Regions from separate parts of the Homo sapiens genome. Here region 1 is linked to region 2. The links are contacts of gene promoters, found by promoter capture Hi-C in human tissues and cell types (Jung and others, 2019). All regions are on one chromosome and are shown on one strand. The core of a region is centred on a gene start or on the middle of the fragment in contact, and the rest is flanking DNA. Distances in the headings are between cores, read along the strand shown.

What was found. Contacts are between HindIII fragments. The study calls those that stand out against the background at their distance.
Region 1: a contact is called between a fragment that was not itself captured here and the fragment with the promoter of PEX11A in region 2, in 1 of the 25 tissues and cell types used here (thymus).

What each region holds. Positions count from the first base shown.
Region 1 is chr15:89,734,422-89,738,654 of GRCh38, forward strand. WDR93 (WD repeat domain 93) reads left to right here. Exons shown (of 17, transcript NM_020212.2): 14 at 1,069-1,132; 15 at 3,152-3,308; 16 at 3,620-3,815. It also overlaps a transcript of MESP1 not described here. Among named protein-coding and RNA genes, the nearest start is that of MESP1, 15 kb to the right of the region's middle. The HindIII fragment of the contact is 7,254 bases long and covers 1-4,233 here.
Region 2 is chr15:89,688,751-89,692,753 of GRCh38, forward strand. It overlaps PEX11A (peroxisomal biogenesis factor 11 alpha), which reads right to left and starts at 2,004. Exons shown (of 3, transcript NM_003847.3): 1 at 1,827-2,004. The coding sequence starts at 1,882. WDR93 (WD repeat domain 93) reads left to right here and starts at 2,061. Exons shown (of 17, transcript NM_020212.2): 1 at 2,061-2,107. RefSeq lists an enhancer at 1,839-1,928. The HindIII fragment of the contact is 14,807 bases long and covers 209-4,003 here.

The DNA.
Region 1 (4,233 bases), core at 227-2,726, 45 kb after region 2:
TAGTACAGCCTTTCTCACATGGTAGTCTAAGGGCTCCTAGCAGCAGGAGAGGGCAACCATAGCACACAAATGCTTTTCAAGCTTCTGCTCATGTTACATTTGCTAATGTCCCATTGGGCAAAGCACATCCCACATCCATGCCCACATTCAAGCAGTAGAAAAACAGACTCCATCTTTTGATGGGAGTCACTGCCAAATACAGCCAACTGCTTTTCAATCTACCACACCATTTTTCTAAATTCATCATTCCTTTGCTTTCCCTTAAGAATTAACCACATTTAGGCCAGGTACAGAGGGTCACACCTGTAATCCAAGCACTTTGGGAGGCCAAGGCGGGTGGACCACTTGAGCTCAGGAGTTCAAGACCAGCCTGGGTAACATAGTGAGACCCCTTCTCTGTGAAAAGAACAAAAATTATTAAAAAAAGAAAAAGAATTAACCACATTTGTATGACTGTATCTCTAAACAGTATATTATTTAGCTATGCATATTTAGGAAACTTACAAAGCAAACCATATTCTATATATTCTCCAACTTGTCTTCCTTCCTTCCTTCCCTCCGTCCCTCCTTCCTTCCTTCCTTCCTTCTTTCCTTCCGTGCATCCTTCTTTCCTTTCTTTCTTTCTGTTTTGTTTGGTTTTGTTTGAGACACGGTCTCACTCTGTAGCCCAGGCTGGTCTTGAACTCCTGGGCTCAAAGTGCTGGGCCCCCAAAGTGCTGGGATTACAGGTGTGAGCCACTGCACCCAGCCTCCAACTTGTTTTTCAATGGTATTTATTCTGCATCTTGCTTTGCAACATTGTTCACAAGAGCCATACATGTTGATGCATGTAGCTCCAGTTCTTTTATTTTCATTACCATATTATATTTCATTGTATAAGATACCACAATGACTTAAGCATCCTCCTAATAGATATTTGGATTGTTCTTAATTTTTTGCTACTATGAACAGCCTCCTCACATATTTCTTGATTTCTCTGAATTTCTCCAGGATATATGCCTAGAAGAGGATATCAAAACTTTTAAACTCTTAAAGTAGGAGAATGTCTGTATATTTTCTGTCCTATAGGCCTGTAAAGCACCTGGATAAAACCATCTGTGCCGTGGCCCCAGTCCCAGCCTTACCTGGCATGGTAGGTTCCCCATGCCTCTCTGTAAATGCCCCATGCCTCTCATTTCTCTTCTGTGAATGTGTTCATCTGTCCTTTAGAAAATGCTTATTGAAGGCCTGTTATGTGTTAGGCACTGGACTAGCTTTCGGGTTTACAAATAGAAAGAGAAAGAACCTGCCTTCATGGAGCACACAGCTCATTTGGGAAGACAGAGAAGTCACCAGGCAGCTGCCTTAGAACATGAGAAAGGCTGTGATAGGGATTTTTTAATGGATGCATGGAACAGAGAGAGGGTCACCTAACTCAACCTGCAGAAGTTGGCAGCAGGGGAGGACTGTGTTTTCTGGAGGAGGTGACAGCTGAGCTGAGCCAGAGGAGTTGAGAAGGCAACACCATGGAGGCAAGAGAGCACCACGTGTCCCGGGCACTGCAGGAAGTCCCAGTATCTGCCACATGAGATTGCTGTGGAATGTGGAGAGGGAGGAGGCTGGGGCGGGAAGACAGGTGGGCCAGACCATGGAAGGTCCTGTACACTGCGCAGAAGGATACAGATGTGTCCCTGTGTGGGATGGGGCTCAAACAGAGAGGTCAGAGAATGGGAACAGCATATTTAGAGCAGGGATGGAGAGTTGAGAGATCTCAGTTCGGCGATGGACTCCACATTCTTCACTACCTGTGGCTGTTGCCAAAGGAGAGGGAAGCGTGCGCGGTTGATCCTCGCTTGCAGAGGTGATTCCCCAGTCCTTACAGGGCCCACTTCAGGCCTGGAGAGAAAGTCTGTGATTCCTGGTGTGGCCCTACGGAGGGTGAGGGGCCTACAGGACCCCCAGGGGAGGCTCCAAGAGAGCCAAGGGCTGAAAATGTAGATTCCATGCTCACCAGCCAGGTACAGTTAGTGAGAGGTGGTTGAAGTGGGGCGTACAGCAGGTTCCCCTTGTTAAAGAGAGGGAGTGAATAGAGAAGAGGTTCCCATGGGCACTACCATCACTTACAGGACCTGGAAAATCAGTTCACAAAGTGACCGTGAGGGGCCCCAGGGAAAACTGCATGGGGACAGTCCTGCAAGCAGAGAGGAGAGTCTAAAGAAAGTGAGAGCAGTGTCCTGTGCTGCAGAAAAACCAAGAACATGGTGGAGACGAGTGGCTGAAGCTGGGAGACAGACGCAGGAGGTGGGGGAGTGGACAGGGTGTGGAGAGACCCTCTTGTGTGGGGAGGGGAAAGTGGTGTGGCAGCTGGAGGAGGCTGTTGGGTCAAAGGGGGCTTTTTTTTTTTTTTTTGAAACGGAGTCTCGCTCTGCCGCCCAGGCTGGAGTGCAGTGGTGCAATCTTGGCTCACTGCAAGCTCTGCCTCCCGGGTTCACACCATTCTCCTGCCTCAGCCTCCCGAGTAGCTGGGACTACAGGTGCCCGCTAGCACGCCAGGCTAATTTTTTGTATTTTTAGTAGAGACGAGGTTTCACCGTGTTAGCCAGGATGGTCTCGATCTCCTGACCTCGTGATCCGCCCACCTTGGCCTCCCAAAGTGCTGGGATTACAGGCATGAGCCATCGCGCCCGGCCAAAGGGGACTTTCTAAGGATGGGGAGAGTTTAGTATGTTCACTGCAGAGGAAAGAGCCCAGGCAAGAGAGCATCCCCAGCTCAGATCTCAGGCCAGGAGGGGCTGTTAGATTGAGCAAGGTCCCTGAGGCAGTGGGAAGGAAAGGCATTGGGAGCACAGGTGAGAAATGGAATCTTGGCTACATGGAGGGTGAGCTCTTCAGCAGAGAAGCAGAGAACTTGGAAGAGAGGCTGGGAAAAAGGGGAGGAATGCATAGCCCTGGAGCAGACAGCATGTGGAGGAGGGTCTGTTGGCTGAGGGGGACCCCAAGCACACATGTGTGTGCAGGTCTCCAGCAGCCCTGGATGGATCCAGAGGCTGGGGCCCAAGAGGTTTTATGTCCAGCTGCTTCTCTCATTCCTTACTGGGGTGACCTCTACACGACCTTCCTGTGAGGGACAGAGTCCAGTAGAAGCCCCCCTCACCATCTCTTTGCTTCCCAGGTGCTCATCTTTTCCAAGAATGGCTCTGTGTGCCTTATGGATGTGGCCAAGCGTGAAATCATCTGTGCCTTTGCCCCTCCGGGAGCCTTTCCTCTGGAGGTCCCCTGGAAGCCAGTGTTTGCTGTGTCTCCAGACCATCCATGTTTCCTGCTCCGAGGTACAGAAAGGGACCAGGGCTGATGCCCACTGACCATTTCCCTGACTTAGTTCTCTCACAAACAGAGAGAGCCCCTCCGATCTCCTCCCCACTCTGTGTCCCCCTCTACCATAGGCCAAAGGGTACCGCAGCTCAGTCCTCACAGGGCACTTAGATAAAATGCCAGCAGGGTCTTCTCTCTGAAGTCACAGCTCAACCCAGATGACCCAGCCTTTATAAGCAGAGAGCAGCCCCCACCTGCTCACCTGGACCACAGAGCCCACTGAGAAAGCGATTGTTACACAGAACATGGTGTTCTTGTCTCGTCACAGGAGACTATTCACATGAAACTGCGTCCACCGACGATGCTGGAATCCAATATTCTGTTTTCTATTTTAATTTTGAGGCCTGCCCACTCCTGGAAAATATCTCAAAAAATTGTACCATTCCTCAAAGGGACTTGGATAACATGGCCTTCCCCCAAGCACTGCCACTGGAGAAGAGATGTGAGCGTTTCCTCCAGAAGAGGTAAAGAGCTCTGTGTCTTCACCCCCTCCCACATCTGAGGTTGTCTCTGGATTGAGGGATAGTGGAGTTTCTTTCATGGTAAATCCTTTCAGCATTGAAATTTCCCCTGGCTGGGCGTGGTGGCTCACGCCTGTAATCCCAGCACTTTGGGAGTCCGAGGCAGGCGGATCACCTGAGGTGAGGAGTTCAAGACCAGCCTGGTCAACATGGTGAAACCCCGTCTCTATTAAAAATACAGAAATTAGCTGGGTGTGGTGGTACATGCCTGTAATCCCAGCTACTCGGGAGGCTGAGGCAGGAGAATTGCTTAAACCTGGGAGGCAGAGGTTGCAGTGAGCCAAGATCGCACCACTGCACTCCAGCCTAGGTGACAGAGCAAGACTCTGTCCCAAAAAAAAAAAAAAAAAAAGAAATTTCC
Region 2 (4,003 bases), core at 754-3,253:
TGTTGCCCAGGCTGGAGTGCAGTGGCGTGATCTTGGCTCACTGCAAGCTTTGCCTCCTGGGCTCATGCCATTCTCCTGCCTCAGCCTCCTGAGTAGCTGGGACTGCAGGCGCCCACCACAACGCCCAGCTAATTTTTGTATTTTTAGTAGAGACAGGGTTTCACCATGTTAGCCAGGATGGTCTCGATCTCCTGACTTTGTGATCCGCCCACCTCAGCCTCCCAAAGTGCTGGGATTACAGGTGTAAGCCACTGCACCCGGCCTAAATGATTATTTTTTTAACCAACTTCCTTGATAAACCCTGCAGGGTACATTCTAGGTACACTGGAATTACAGGTTTCTATTTAATGAAATTTCTATTTAATGAAGCTTGTATATAAAGTAACCATTTAAAAAACCTATCAAACTAATGAGAAAGCCAGTATAGCTTGGTAGTTAAGTGGGCACTGGAGTCATTTGCGTGGATGTGAATCCCTCAGTTCTGCCATTGTAGTACCTATTAACCTCTTTCTGCTTCAGTTTCTCCATCTGAAGTGGGTAAAATATTTAGAGTATCTACCTCATAGGGTTGTGATGAGGGTTATATAAGTTCATAGTTGCAAAACACTGGGAACAATAGCTGTCATAAAGATGGCTTCCAAAAGCCTCATTATTGGGGCCATTCTAATTGATCTGTTTGTATCAGCACTTGCACACCCAGAAGAGAATGCAGAGCTGTTAAATAAAACTGCAACTGTAAATATTTTTTCATTAAGCAAGAATCAACCAAATCTCTAAAACATCATGAACTAGTACTGTATTCGTATTAAAGATACAATCTCTCAGTTCTTTTCGTTTCTTATGGAACCAAAAGAAAAAGAGACACAATCTCTGTTTAATATTTTCAGTAGCACAGCATGAACCTTAGAGGTGCAGTTAGTTCTTTCTGAGCTTCTCCCCACTGTATTTCCCCCCAATCCAGTTGGTGTGGTCTCATCCCCGCTATATTTTGTTTTACAATTTACAAAACTATTCCACATGCAGTATCTCAATGATACAGCCTGGGTAATAATGGAAGAGAACTTCTGTCTCTCCTCAAACATTTCAAGAGGTATTTGAGACCGGGCGCGGTGGCTCGCACCTGTAATCCCAGCACTTTGGGAAGCCGAGGTGGACAGATCACCTGAGGTCAGGAGTTCGAGACCAGCCTGGCCAACATGGCGAAACCCCCGTCTCTACTAAAAATACAAAAAGTAGCCGGGCGTGGTAGTGCACGCCTGTAATCCCAGCTACTCAGGAGGCTGAGGCAGGAGAATCGCTTGAACCCGGGAGGCAGAGGTTGCAGTGGGCCGAGACCGCGCCACTGCCTGGGCGACAGAGCGAGACTCCGTCTCAAAAGAAAAAAAAAAGAGAGATATTTGAAGTCACACCAAGTGGTTTGCTTCCCTAGCCACAAATACTAATCCAAAGTTTCTCTTTAAAGGAGATCCCTCGGAAGAATGTTGAGTGGAGAGAACCAATCTTTCTGTGCCCGGAGAGCAAAGTTAGGAGGGGAGGAGGATCTGTCAGCCGGTGTCCCGTCGTCGGCGGTCTCGAGGCGGCTAGGGTGCCAGGCACTGGGGCTTTCGTGCACGGGGCTAGGACGGGACGCGGGTGCGTTGGGCCCACTCACGTTGAATTTAGGGTAAGGAGGGGCTCGGATACTAAACTCCCTCCGTAGGAGCTGGCAACGTCCTTCCTGCTTCCATCTACTAGGCTATCACCTCCTTTTTCCCGGGTGCAGGGGAATAGGCACGGGAGCCGAGTTAGGGCGAGAAAGGGGCGGAGGCCGCTGGCACCTGACTCACCTGAAGAGTCGGTCCCGGCCCTGGGTCTGGTTGGTGAAGCGGGTGAAGGCGTCCATGGCTTCTAGCCCAAAGGCCACGAGTCGCACGGGGCTCAGGCGTGGGTCCTCTGGGGCCCGTCGGATCCCCAGGGAACGGTCAGTCCCAGGTTATCCGCTGAGGGGGAGGGGCTGAGTCTCTCCGCCCCAGAGGGGGCGGGCACACTTTCTGTAGAGCAACTTCGCGGACTTCCGGTTCAAGCCGGAAGTTGTGGTTACCAAGGCGACGCAACGCCGCCCGGCCAGGTGAGCAAAACTGATCTTACCTTTGGATGCCGGGGCTCCCCTCGAGTCCCAGGACTCCCCTTTACCTGTAGAGTCTCCTAGAGGAAAGTCTGAGGGGGTCCGTCTCCCCAGACTCGGGCGTTTCCGGATGCCTGACGCCTCCCCGCAGATCTCAGGTTCTCAGGAACCCGGGGTGATATCCCGAATGGTCTCTCCAGCCTCAGAACTCCCCTGAGCTCTTGCTTGGGACGGTGGGGCCTAATCATTTCCCAGCGCCGTGCCTCTTTCCCTTGAGCTACACCAGCTCTATGTCTGGTGAAGGAAGTGGTTAGGTCAGAGATAAGCCAATTTCACAGTGTGAACCTAGCATGGGAGGCGGATGAAGTGAGAAAATGTTCTGCTTGGATTATTGAACATTGAAAGAAGATTGTTACCTGAGGAAATCCTAAAAGAGTCATTATGAGCAAAGTGAAGCAAAAATAGATTGCAATGAAATTGCACCGCTGAACATTCGTTCTGTGCGGCTTGAAGAAAAGGAGCCTTACCCACTCCGTGGCAGTAATTTTATAAAATGTACCCTCTATAACCACAAAATAAGGTCGGCCGGTGCTGTGGCTTACGCCTGTAATCCCAACACTTTGGGAGCCGAGGTGGGCGGATCACCTGCGATCAGGAGTTGGAGACCAGCCTGGCCAACAGGGTGAAACCCCGTCTCTACTAAAAATACAAAAAAAGTAGCCGGGCGTGGTGGTGGGCGCCTGTAATCCCAGCTACTCGGGAGGCTGAGGCAGGAGAATCGCTGGAACCCAGGAGGCGGAGGTGGCAGTGAGCCGAGATTGTGCCACTGCTTTCCAGCCTGGGCGACAGAGCGAGACGCTGTCTCAAAAAAATAAAATAAAATAAAATAAGGTGAACATTTTCGTAATCTTTATTCCCTTGGTCAGGCCAGCTCCTAACATTTGCAGGCCCTGGGTAAGAGTACAAATGGAGTCCAGCACACCGTATGTTTAAATATTTTAGTTATAAATCAAGCAACAAATTGTAAAGTAAAATATAGTCTGTTTTCCTACATTGACAAATAGACCCTCATAATGATGTAGAAGGCCAGGTTCATCTTCAGAATCCCTAGACTCCTTAGAATACCTGGAAACACAGCTGGAATATGGCAGTGTGGGGAGAAATGGCTCCCAGTCTTTTCCCACTTCCCTTTCTTTTCTGGTTTCTGGTGCCCACCTGCATTCCCTGCCAGGAGCCTTGTATACCATCCTGATACTCCAAGCCACATCCAACGTCTGCCCGTACCTCTGCAAGCAGCCATGCCTTTGCCACCTTTTCAGATCGAGGAGTGCTCACATTAGCAGCTGGGTCTGCCCTCAGGTGAAAGCTGAGAAGGGCTCATGCAGGCCATGGTGTCATTTGGGCAGTAAATTCCAGGGGTATTGGTACCCTGAACATGGTCTAGACTCCAGAAGAGGGAAACTAGGCTTTGGGTGAGCATATCTCCTTGGCCCCATGGGTTACTCATTTTTTGTAGAGGAAAGAGCCTCGAAGAGAGCCAGAAGTTTTCTCTAAATACGTGGCCCAGGTCAGGGCAATTCTGCAAGCAATGAGAATTTATTGAGTCCTGGCCATATACCAACCACTGTGCTAAACTCTAGTCGTAGGGTAATAGGTTAACAAGGAACACAGTAAACTGATAAGTACAACACAGAGATATGTTAGATGATAGAGGTGAGCACAGGGTGCTTCTAAACACAGATGTGTATCATCTGTTTTTTGTTTTTGTTTTTGAGACAGAGTTTTGCTCTTATTGCCCAGGCTGGAGTGCAATGGCGCAATGTCAGCTCACTGCACCCTTCGTCTCCCGGGTTCAAGCGATTCTCCTGCTTCAGCCTCCTGAGCTGGGATTACAGGCAT